3 separate regions of the Homo sapiens genome follow, and regions 2 and 3 are each linked to region 1. The links are contacts of gene promoters, found by promoter capture Hi-C in blood cells and fetal thymus (Javierre and others, 2016). All regions are on one chromosome and are shown on one strand. The core of a region is centred on a gene start or on the middle of the fragment in contact, and the rest is flanking DNA. Distances in the headings are between cores, read along the strand shown.

Region 1 (3,068 bases), core at 395-2,894:
GCATGTCCCATTGGCTCCAGCACACCACTACATGTTGCTCTTCAGGGACCTTAAAAGATACTTTGAACAAACAAATCATCTGGATCAAACTATCTCCAGAGTTCCCAAGGGTGCCAACCTCTTTGCTACCCCACTTTAGAAATACCCAAAACACAGGTTAAACTATGCACAGTATTTATTAAGAATGCCATTTACAATACCTTACACTTGTATCACGCTTTACACTTTTCAAAGTAGTGCTTTTATGGCACGGTGGGACTGTCTGACCCTGCAGAGTGAATTTAAATCGCTGGGTAATAGCTTTTTAATGTATAATGGGTGAAAAGATAGTCCTGGGAGCCGTTTGTCAAAGAGAAAGGCGAAGGAGTGGAACTGGCAGCCCCACAAGGAAGTCGGGAAGCTGGTTGGCCCCTACCCGGTTCCTGGTTCTCTCCTGGAAATGGCTCCAACATTGTGCAAGCAAGTGGGTGTGCAATAGTTTTGAGCACGCATCTCTCTCTCTGTCTCTCTCTCTCTCTCTCTCGGATTTAATTAGAATTTCCGTTTTTTCCAACAAAGAGTTGGACGGGATACGTTCTAAGACTTTTACAAACTGTAAAATGATGAGCGAGGTAACATTCAAATATGCTCTTAACAGAACAGCTCAGTAATGGTTTCCTCCACATCAAAACGTGCCTATTGCTGCAGCAGACGCTTATGCAGAGTCTACATGCACTCTCACCGCAAAAATTCACACAGCCAGTAGTCGTGGCCGAGTGGTTAAGGCGATGGACTAGAAATCCATTGGGGTCTCCCCGCGCAGGTTCGAATCCTGCCGACTACGGGAATGTCAGCTTTTTGCCGTCAACACTTACTTTTTGTGTTTTAGAGCGTTCTGCTCAAACCTTCCACAGATTTCAGGAATTTACAAACGGCTGAAACACAACAGGGACCCAAACGGGAGAGGAGAGAATGAAGGGGCGAGAATGCGTGCTTGTGGTTACAACGTGGGCCCGGGAGGGGGAGACGGGAGGAACCACGCCAGACATGCTGAAAGGAAGAAACGCAAAGCATCGCGAGTCACACAGACACACTGCAGAGACAGCTCCGAACTCTGTCCCTGCATACGCCCGCCCCTCACGAACCCACCGCGTTCTCTGCCGCGAGCCCTCGTGGGCGCCGGGTTGCCACGGGAAGCGGTGCGCATGCGCGGGGACGCCTAACGGGGCAGGAGCCCGCCAGGTCCCCTCGTTACTCCTGGAAACCACCGGAGCCTTGGCGATTGGAGGGGAAAAGGCCAGGCGATTCAAGATGGCGGAGGACCTGGACGAGCTCTTGGATGAAGTCGAGTCCAAGTTTTGCACACCTGACCTTCTAAGACGGGGTATGGTCGAGCAGCCCAAAGGCTGCGGCGGCGGCACCCACAGTAGCGACCGGAACCAAGCCAAGGCGAAAGAGACGCTCAGGTTAACCGGGCGGGAGGGGTGGACTGTTCTGGTAAAGCCCTGCTCCAGGCCCTAGAGCTGCCCCTCCGCCGCCCAACCCAAAAGAAACGTGCCCGCGACCTCCAGCCCCTCCTTGCATCAGGGTTCAGACCCTCAGCGCCCTACCCTCCGCGGCAGCGCATTCGTCGACCCTCTTCGCGGATTCTGGCACCTCTTCACTCAGCGCAGACTCCGCCCCCCGGCATGCCCCAGAGGGCTGGCCCCCGCCCCGCCCCGCCCCGCCCCGCCCCGCCCCGCCCCGCCCGCAGAGCCCGCAGTCCGCGCCAGTCTCCTTCATCCTGTTTCTGGCTGCCAGCGCGTAGGAGGTTCTAGTCGGGGACCGGGATACCCCTCAGGCGCCCCGTTCTTAACCCCGAGAGGGCTGTGCTGACCTCGGCCGCATTTTGCCTCTGTGTGGCCAAGCGGTTCTCATCTCCCTGTGAGGTGCCCTGTTAGACAGCCTCATCCCATTGCCTCAGACCCCACTCCCCAGGTCAATCCTATTTGTCTTTAGCTCAGTTTTGTTGTTTTGTTTGTTTTTTGAGATGGAGTCTCGCTCTGTCGCCCAGGTTGGAGTGCAGTGGCACGATCGTAGCTCACTGCAGCCTCCAACTCCCGGGTTCAAAGATCCTCCCACCTCGGCCTACCCTAGCTGGGATTACAGGCACGAGCCTGTAATCTGGGATTACGTAAACTGGGATTACAGGCACGAGCCCGGTTAATTTGTATTTTTTGTAGAGACAGTCTCACTGTGTTGGCCAGGCTGGTCTTGAACTCCTGAGTTCAAGCTGTCCTCCCGCCTCTGCCTCCCCTAACTGCTAGGATTACAGTTGCGAGCCATCGCACCTGACTCAGTTTGTTTTATTTTTTTAACTCAGGGAGTTAAGATGAGATTAAATTCATTACAAAAGGGTTAATTATTGTGAACATTAAACCGTCTACCTTCCTTCTCTCCATGGCCCCCTAGTTAAGGGTGCCAGACATACATATGGAAATTTAAGGACATTTCTTAAGGTATTTTGGTTTTTTATCTAAAAACTACCTTTCAAATTTACCAGTCGTTTTTCCTCCATGTAATTATTAAATAATAGGATTTCCTTCACTTCCTCATTTCCCCCACAACCCCTCAAAAAAAAAAAACAAAATGTTTGCATAAGAATATTGACCTTCAGTAACTCTTGCTAGAATCTTTTGGAAATTGCCTCTTGCCTAGAATATTTTGGAAACGCTTGTGAAATTACACGGAGGCAACTTTGGATCAATCTAAGAACGTCATCTCCGTTAATTTTTTTGCTGCATCTTTGGTTTGGTTTTGGTTTTTTGGTGTGTGTATGTGTGATTTCCCAAAGTATTATCCAACTCTGTTACTATCCAGTTCACCTGGCTTACCTCCAGTGATATTTATTTATTTTATTTACTTATTTATTTATTTTTGAGTTTCGCTCTGTCGCCCAGGCTGGAGTGCAGTGGCCCACCTCAGCTCACTGCAAGCTCCGCCTCCCATTCCCCTGCCTCAGCCTCCCGAGTAGCTGAGACTACAGGCGCCCGCCACCACGCCTGGCTAATTTTTTGTATTTCTGGTAGAAACGGGGTTTCACCGTGTTA
Region 2 (3,035 bases), core at 338-2,837, 5.3 Mb after region 1:
CTTCAGCAAAGGAATTTCAAAATTGTCAGATTACAATTAATTTTTAAATGAGTTCATTTTCTCCTTCTCAAACTGTATTGTCTAATGGTGTCAGAAGAGCTTGGATAAGGTCTGTATGACCTTATTGCTACAATCCTAATGATGTGTGTTAAAAAATGAAATCTCTGAAGACATCACAGAGCTGTTGTAGATTTCAAATGAGAAATGTCTCTGAAAAGTATCAGAAAATATGGGCTTCCTTTATAATGATCTATAACCCAGTTTTCACAGGGAGAGAAAAAAAATCAGCAAAACCCTAACCCTGAACAAATCTCACTTTTTAAAAGAAAGATACCTTACTTGAGGGAACCACCATACTAATTCTTTGTATTCCTATTTGGAACTACTGCTGCCCATATTTTTTGAAAAACAACACCATGGCTGTCTATTCTATCAAATCAAAAGAAGTTTTTTCACAGTTGACATATTAATTTTTCTACCTGGCTAAAGAAAATGTGCTTTTTAGTTTACTTATAACAATTTTGTAATTTAGATGTGGGGAGGGCTTGTCTTGGATATTATTGCTTCTTTTTGTTTTTGTTTCTCTTTCTTCTTCCTAGCTGTTTTCACTTCCTAGCTATTTCCACTATGGGTGCAATGGAGATGGTGACAGGAGTGTGGGCCAGAGAGAGGGGGAAGCCAGTGTGAGACGGACCTCTCCCAGCTATACATCTGGGAAGGGGAGTCTATAAACAGCTGGGGTTTTGTTTTTGTTTCATTTTTATGATAATTTGTTTGTATTAGTGTTTAATTCCATAACTAACACATAGATGGACTTTCCTCACAACAAAGGACGTCAAAGGTCAGTGCTCGCTCGGCCTGATCCCCTCTCACTCCTTAAGGGGTGGACGGGCGCCGTATCCTTCCCTACCTCTTTCTACCTATTTACACACAAGTTGGAAACTTGCAGAACTGTGAAAACTTCGAAAATCACGTCTCTTCCCTATTCCCCTACACACATCAGGGCTTCATCTGACAGTGGAATACGACCCGGGCCCCGGTGCTCACTCCCGGCGTTGCCCTTCGCTCCGGGACCTGGTGGTCCTCTCTCTCTGCGCCCCAAAACGCCCTGTCCTAGCTCCCTGAGCCCCAGGGACGCCGGGTCCTCTCTTTGTGCCCCAAGACTTCCTGCCCTTTCTCTTGCGCCCCGAGACGTCCTGTCCTCTCTCTCGCTCCCCGGGTTGCTCTGTGCTCTCTTAGCGCTCCAGAACGCCCTGTCCTCTCTCTTTGAGCCCCGGGACACCCTGTCCTCGCTCCCCGAGGCCCCGGGACGCCCTGTCCTCTCTCTCTCTGCGCCTCGGGATGCCCTGTCCTCGCTCCCCGAACCCCCGGGACGCCCTGTCCTCTCTCTTTGCGCCCCAGGATGCCTTGTCCTCGCTCCCCGAGCCCCCGTGACGCCCTGTCCTCTCTCTTTGCGCGTCGAGACGCCCTGTCCTCGCTCCCCGCGCCCCCGGCCGCCTTACCCTCCGAGGAGCGAGGCCACAGGGCAGCCGGGACCCCAGAGTAAAGAAAACCCTGGCCGGTAGCTTCATGTTGAGTCTCCAGAACTCGGGCCGGAAGGCGGCGCAGGCGGTTGGGCGCAGGGGGCGGGACAAAAAGAACAAAGTTCTCGGGGCTGGAAACGCTGCCTAGGCCGCCGGGGGATGGGACGGGGACTGGGACCCAGGCGGCGTGGACGCCCAGCGGCCCTGACCTTCAGAGTCCGGCCGAGGGCGCCGCCTAGCTGGGCCTAGCTGATGCTCTTTCCTGCTCTCTGGGCCAGGAGTGCTTTGTATGGCAGAGAATGGAGGTTCTTTGCGTCCTTGAGCGGGTGTACGAAACCCCGCGCCCTGCAAGGGTTTGCAGATTGCAGCTGCGCACCCCATACACTGCCTATCAAGGGCGAAACTCTTTTTCAGTCGTATGTGTTTATCCCTTAAGTGCGTGTTTAAGTGCAGAGTGCGCGTGGCGCCAAGTCACATATTATCAGAATAATAATATGTTGGATGTAAAACACGGCCTCACTTTCCCTAAGACCAAGAGGCTGAAAAACACTAAGGGCAGCTTCCGGCGTTTTGACTTTTCGCAGGACACACCGCCCCCTGTCGCCGGATGCAGCGTGACTGCGACCGCCCAGCCTTGGCTTTTTTCTCGAAGTTAAACACACGTTAAAGGCAAACACAGATTCAGTATATCATTCTCCATCTTAGTGTAATATACCTGTTGACACAAGGCATTAGCTCAGATCACATTTCTTTCCTCATTCGTAAAATGAGAATATTCATAGCTAATTCAGAATTTTAGATAAAAGAAGATGGGTGTGAGGCCCCAGGCTGAGGCTGATGGTAGATGATATTGAGTGTTTACTATTTGCCTGGCATGTTCCAAATGCTGATAAAGAAACATTTATATCTTCAGAGGAATGTACACTTACATGTAGACATATAGCTTATAAGGTATATAAACTCTGAAAAACTTTGTAATTTTGAGTTGGTCTGGTGATAATTTCCAGGCCTTCTGCCTGTAACTGGTTACAGAAATAAAAACTTTCTTCATCCCCAGTTCATCGACATCTCATTATTGGCAGCAAGAAATAGCAGCCTGACCCTCAGTTTGGTCCAGGAACAAAACTACCACAGATTGGGTGGCTTAAATGGAAATTTGTTTTCTCACAATTCTGGAGGCCACAAGTCAGCAGAGTTGGTTTCTTGTGGAGCCACTGTGGGACCATCTTCTCCCTGTGTCTTTACATGATCCTCCTGTGTACCTTTCCATATCTAAATTGCCTCTTCTTATGAGGACACCAGTCGTGTTGGATTAAGGCCCACCCTCAATGACCTAATTTAACTGGAATTACCTCCCTAAAGACTCTATCTCCAAATATAGCCACATTCTGACATACTGGGGGTTAAGAGTTCAATGTATATATTTGGCTGGGAGAAGAGGGAAGTACACAATTCAGCCCAGAACACTTGCCCTCTTAAATAACTTTTAGACCAGCTTAGGAGGCATTTTCT
Region 3 (2,857 bases), core at 89-2,588, 5.9 Mb before region 1:
AGGCAAGGTGAGAACAGCCAATGCAAACACTTTTTTTTTTTCTCCTTTGTCACTAGTAGTTCTAATTAGAAACGAATGTGGCGGGGGTCGGGGGTAAGTATGCACAATAAAGCTGATGTCTAAAGTACTGTTTCCAGATATTCAGCAATTTTAATCATGGTTATAATCGCCATTGCTCTTGTCAGATATTGAAAGTTTGCTGCCACTGCCTGTAAATGGAGAGAGAGCGCGCGCAAAGAACTTTAACCATTCCCCGAAGGATTAGCAACTCAGTACCGTATATTGTTAGCAGTCAAACTAAACCCCTCCGGGAAGCCTGGCCAGCAATTTTTTTTTCTTTTTTTGTTTTTTTTTTTTTTTAGGCAGGGTCTCACTCAGTCGCCCAGGATGGAGTGCAATGGCGCGATCTCGGCTTACCGCAACCTTCACCTCCCGGCCTCAAGCGATTCTCCCACCTCAGCCTCCCGAGTAGCTGGGACTACAGGCGCGGGCCACCATGCTCCACTATTTATTTTATTTTATTTTATTTTTGTGGAGACGTGGGTCTCGCTATGTACTCAGGCTGGTCTGGAACTCCTGGGCTCAAGTGATCCTCCTGCCTTGGGCTCCCAAAGCGCTGAGATTACAGGCGTGAGCCACCGCGCCCGGCCTAGCCAGCAATTTTTAATACGACTTAGGCTTGAATCTTGAACTCACTAAAAGCCCCCAGCTTGGGAAAACACCTGGGGTTTCCATGGGAGTGAGGTAAAGGGCGGCTGTGAAAGAACAAAGGCTGTGCGTCCGCGTTCAGAGCCGCTGGGTCCGCCGGGCTCGCTGGGGGCCGGGGCCGCGGTGTCCTGGGTGGCGGGGCTCCGGGAATGTGACTCAGCCACCGCGGCCCCGCGATCCGCTCCCGGGCCAGCGCCTCAGTCGGTGCCGAGGAGGGCGGCGCCGAGACGGGCGCGTCAGCCTGGGAGGAGCGGGAAAAGGGTCGCAGCGCCTGAGGCCCGGCCGCCGCCCGAGTGGATGAGCGAGCGAGCGACTTGTGAAACACGCCGCGGCCCGGTCACCAACCAGGACCGGGATCACGTGGCTCCCAGGGCTGGGTGAAGAAGCCGCCCGGACCGAGCGCGCCGGAGAGGAGGGGCGCCTGGGGACAGAAGGCGACGTCCCCTGAAGTTTGTGTCAGCCAGGGCCCGCCCCCTCGCGCTTATGTAATAGGGGCGCGCTGCCATTGGCCCGCGCGACCAGCCAGGGCGCAGGCGTGCGAGCGGGGTGGGGGCCAGAAGGAGGCAGCCGCAGAAAGGCACATGGGCGGGGCTGCGAGGAGCAGGCGGGGCGGGGGCGCCGAGGAGAGCGGCGCGGCGTGCGCGGGCACGAGGCGTAGTGGTCTCCCCTAAGGCTGAGGCGGCGGCGGGCGCGCGGCGGCGGCGGGCGTGCGAGGCTGTTGTGCTCCCGGCTCTCGTGTTTCCCCTCCTGAGCGGGTGGAGGAGGCCCAAGCGGTGCTGGGCGCGCTCCCCCTTCCTTTCCCTCCGGCGTCCTCTCCCGGCCCTCTCGCGCTGCACTGTCTCTCCGACGCAAGACTGTCCCGGCCCGGGTGAGCGGCAGCGGGGGCGGTGCTGACGCCGCGGGACGCCCGGGAAACGGGGCGGGGGCCGGCCAGCGGGGGGCGGTGGGGACCGTGGGACTCGCCGCGGGTCGCGAGGGGTCGCGGGGGGCGGCAGGGCCCGGCCCGGGGCGGGCCGCGGGAAGGGGATGAGTTCGGGCGCCTGCCAGGCCCTGCAGGTGGCCGGGTCGCAGGCCAGCCGCGGAAGCGGAGCGGTAACCTTACCCCCGGCGACAGCCGCCGGTCAGCTGCCAGAGTGTGGCGCTCCCGGTGGACGCAGGGGCCGGGTTTCGGGCAGTCTCGGCCTCCAGGAGGCGCGTCTTGGTCCAGGGTCCGTGAGGACTGGCTAGATGGGGGCTGCGTGGCCTTTGGTGGCAGGGAGGAGGAGGGGGTCTCCGAGGCGGGAGAGGCGGGTTTGGGAAGGAAGGTGCGCCAGGCTGAAGCTGGGGTCGGAGAAGTGTTGGGTGGAGACCTCACTGTGGGTGCGTTCCTCCTCTCCTCTCCCCAAAACGATGGTGTTAAAAGCTAGGGTCAGGATGTGGAGCGCTGCCTGGGCCTCTTCCTTTCCGATGGTTATGGAGAATGAGCCTACTTCCTGGACCCAAAATCCTTTTCTTCTGTTACTCATTTATGTTGGTTTTAAAAGGAGCTTTGGGGCAGAGCTTACTTGTTGCCTCCTACGAGAGCGCCTCATTTTAGAACTCGTTTCTTCCACTACTTCCCTCTTTGCAGCCCCCTCGGAAAACCACACTGAGAGTTGCATTAAAAACCAGCATGTAGGTATTTGTAAGTGACTTTTTCCCTCCAGTTTGTCGCATTTAATCAAGGAGCGGTTGTAGCTGCCTACGATTTTGTAGAAAATTGTGTTGGCTTGAGAGCAAGTCCTAAGTTGAGCTGTCCAAAAGCAGGTGGTTGGTTCGTTTGAATTTCTGCTTTCAGAAAGGAAATCGATGGGGCGTGTTGTCAGAAGTTAGGGGCCTACCTCATGCATTTAGCTTATTTTATTCCATTTCCTTTACCTGGTGTTAAGTTTTCTGTCTTCAGAATAAGAACAAGTGACTACTGTCTTTATTAAGTCTCTTCGGTCTTTTTGGTTGCTGTTTGGTGACAATGGAAAATGGGTTGAATCTATTGTGTAATGTTATATTTTAGGGAAAGTCCTAAGTGCAAAAGTTAAAAATAATTTTGTGTGTCTAATGACATTGCTTTGTACGAGTCACAACATGGAAATATCAAAATAGCTAGTAACTTCTAGAAAGCAAAGGAACTTCT

What was found. The method cuts DNA at HindIII sites, captures the fragments that hold promoters and counts their contacts. A CHiCAGO score of 5 or more calls a contact.
Region 2: the fragment with the promoter of DECR1 here is called in contact with the fragment with the promoter of CFAP418-AS1 in region 1 in 1 of 17 cell types (M0 macrophages); the score reaches 7.1 in M0 macrophages.
Region 3: a contact is called between the fragment with the promoter of ZNF706 here and the fragment with the promoter of CFAP418-AS1 in region 1, in 1 of 17 cell types (neutrophils). The highest score is 7.8, in neutrophils.

The regions. Positions count from the first base shown.
Region 1 is chr8:95,267,412-95,270,479 of GRCh38, reverse strand. CFAP418-AS1 (CFAP418 antisense RNA 1) reads right to left here and starts at 1,644. Exons shown (of 4, transcript NR_038209.1): 1 at 1,590-1,644. It overlaps CFAP418 (cilia and flagella associated protein 418), which reads left to right and starts at 1,279. Exons shown (of 6, transcript NM_177965.4): 1 at 1,279-1,445. The coding sequence starts at 1,291. It overlaps TRS-AGA2-5 (tRNA-Ser (anticodon AGA) 2-5), which reads left to right and starts at 742; the gene lies at 742-823. RefSeq lists enhancers at 538-617, 654-1,293, 1,248-1,687. The HindIII fragment of the contact is 4,678 bases long and covers 1-3,068 here.
Region 2 is chr8:90,000,029-90,003,063 of GRCh38, reverse strand. DECR1 (2,4-dienoyl-CoA reductase 1) reads right to left here and starts at 1,587. Exons shown (of 10, transcript NM_001359.2): 1 at 1,503-1,587. The coding sequence starts at 1,571. RefSeq lists enhancers at 961-1,100, 1,949-2,243 and a silencer at 1,571-1,670. The HindIII fragment of the contact is 6,361 bases long and covers 1-3,035 here.
Region 3 is chr8:101,204,154-101,207,010 of GRCh38, reverse strand. ZNF706 (zinc finger protein 706) reads left to right here and starts at 1,338. Exons shown (of 4, transcript NM_016096.5): 1 at 1,338-1,576. RefSeq lists silencers at 774-993, 1,204-1,803. The HindIII fragment of the contact is 4,829 bases long and covers 1-2,857 here.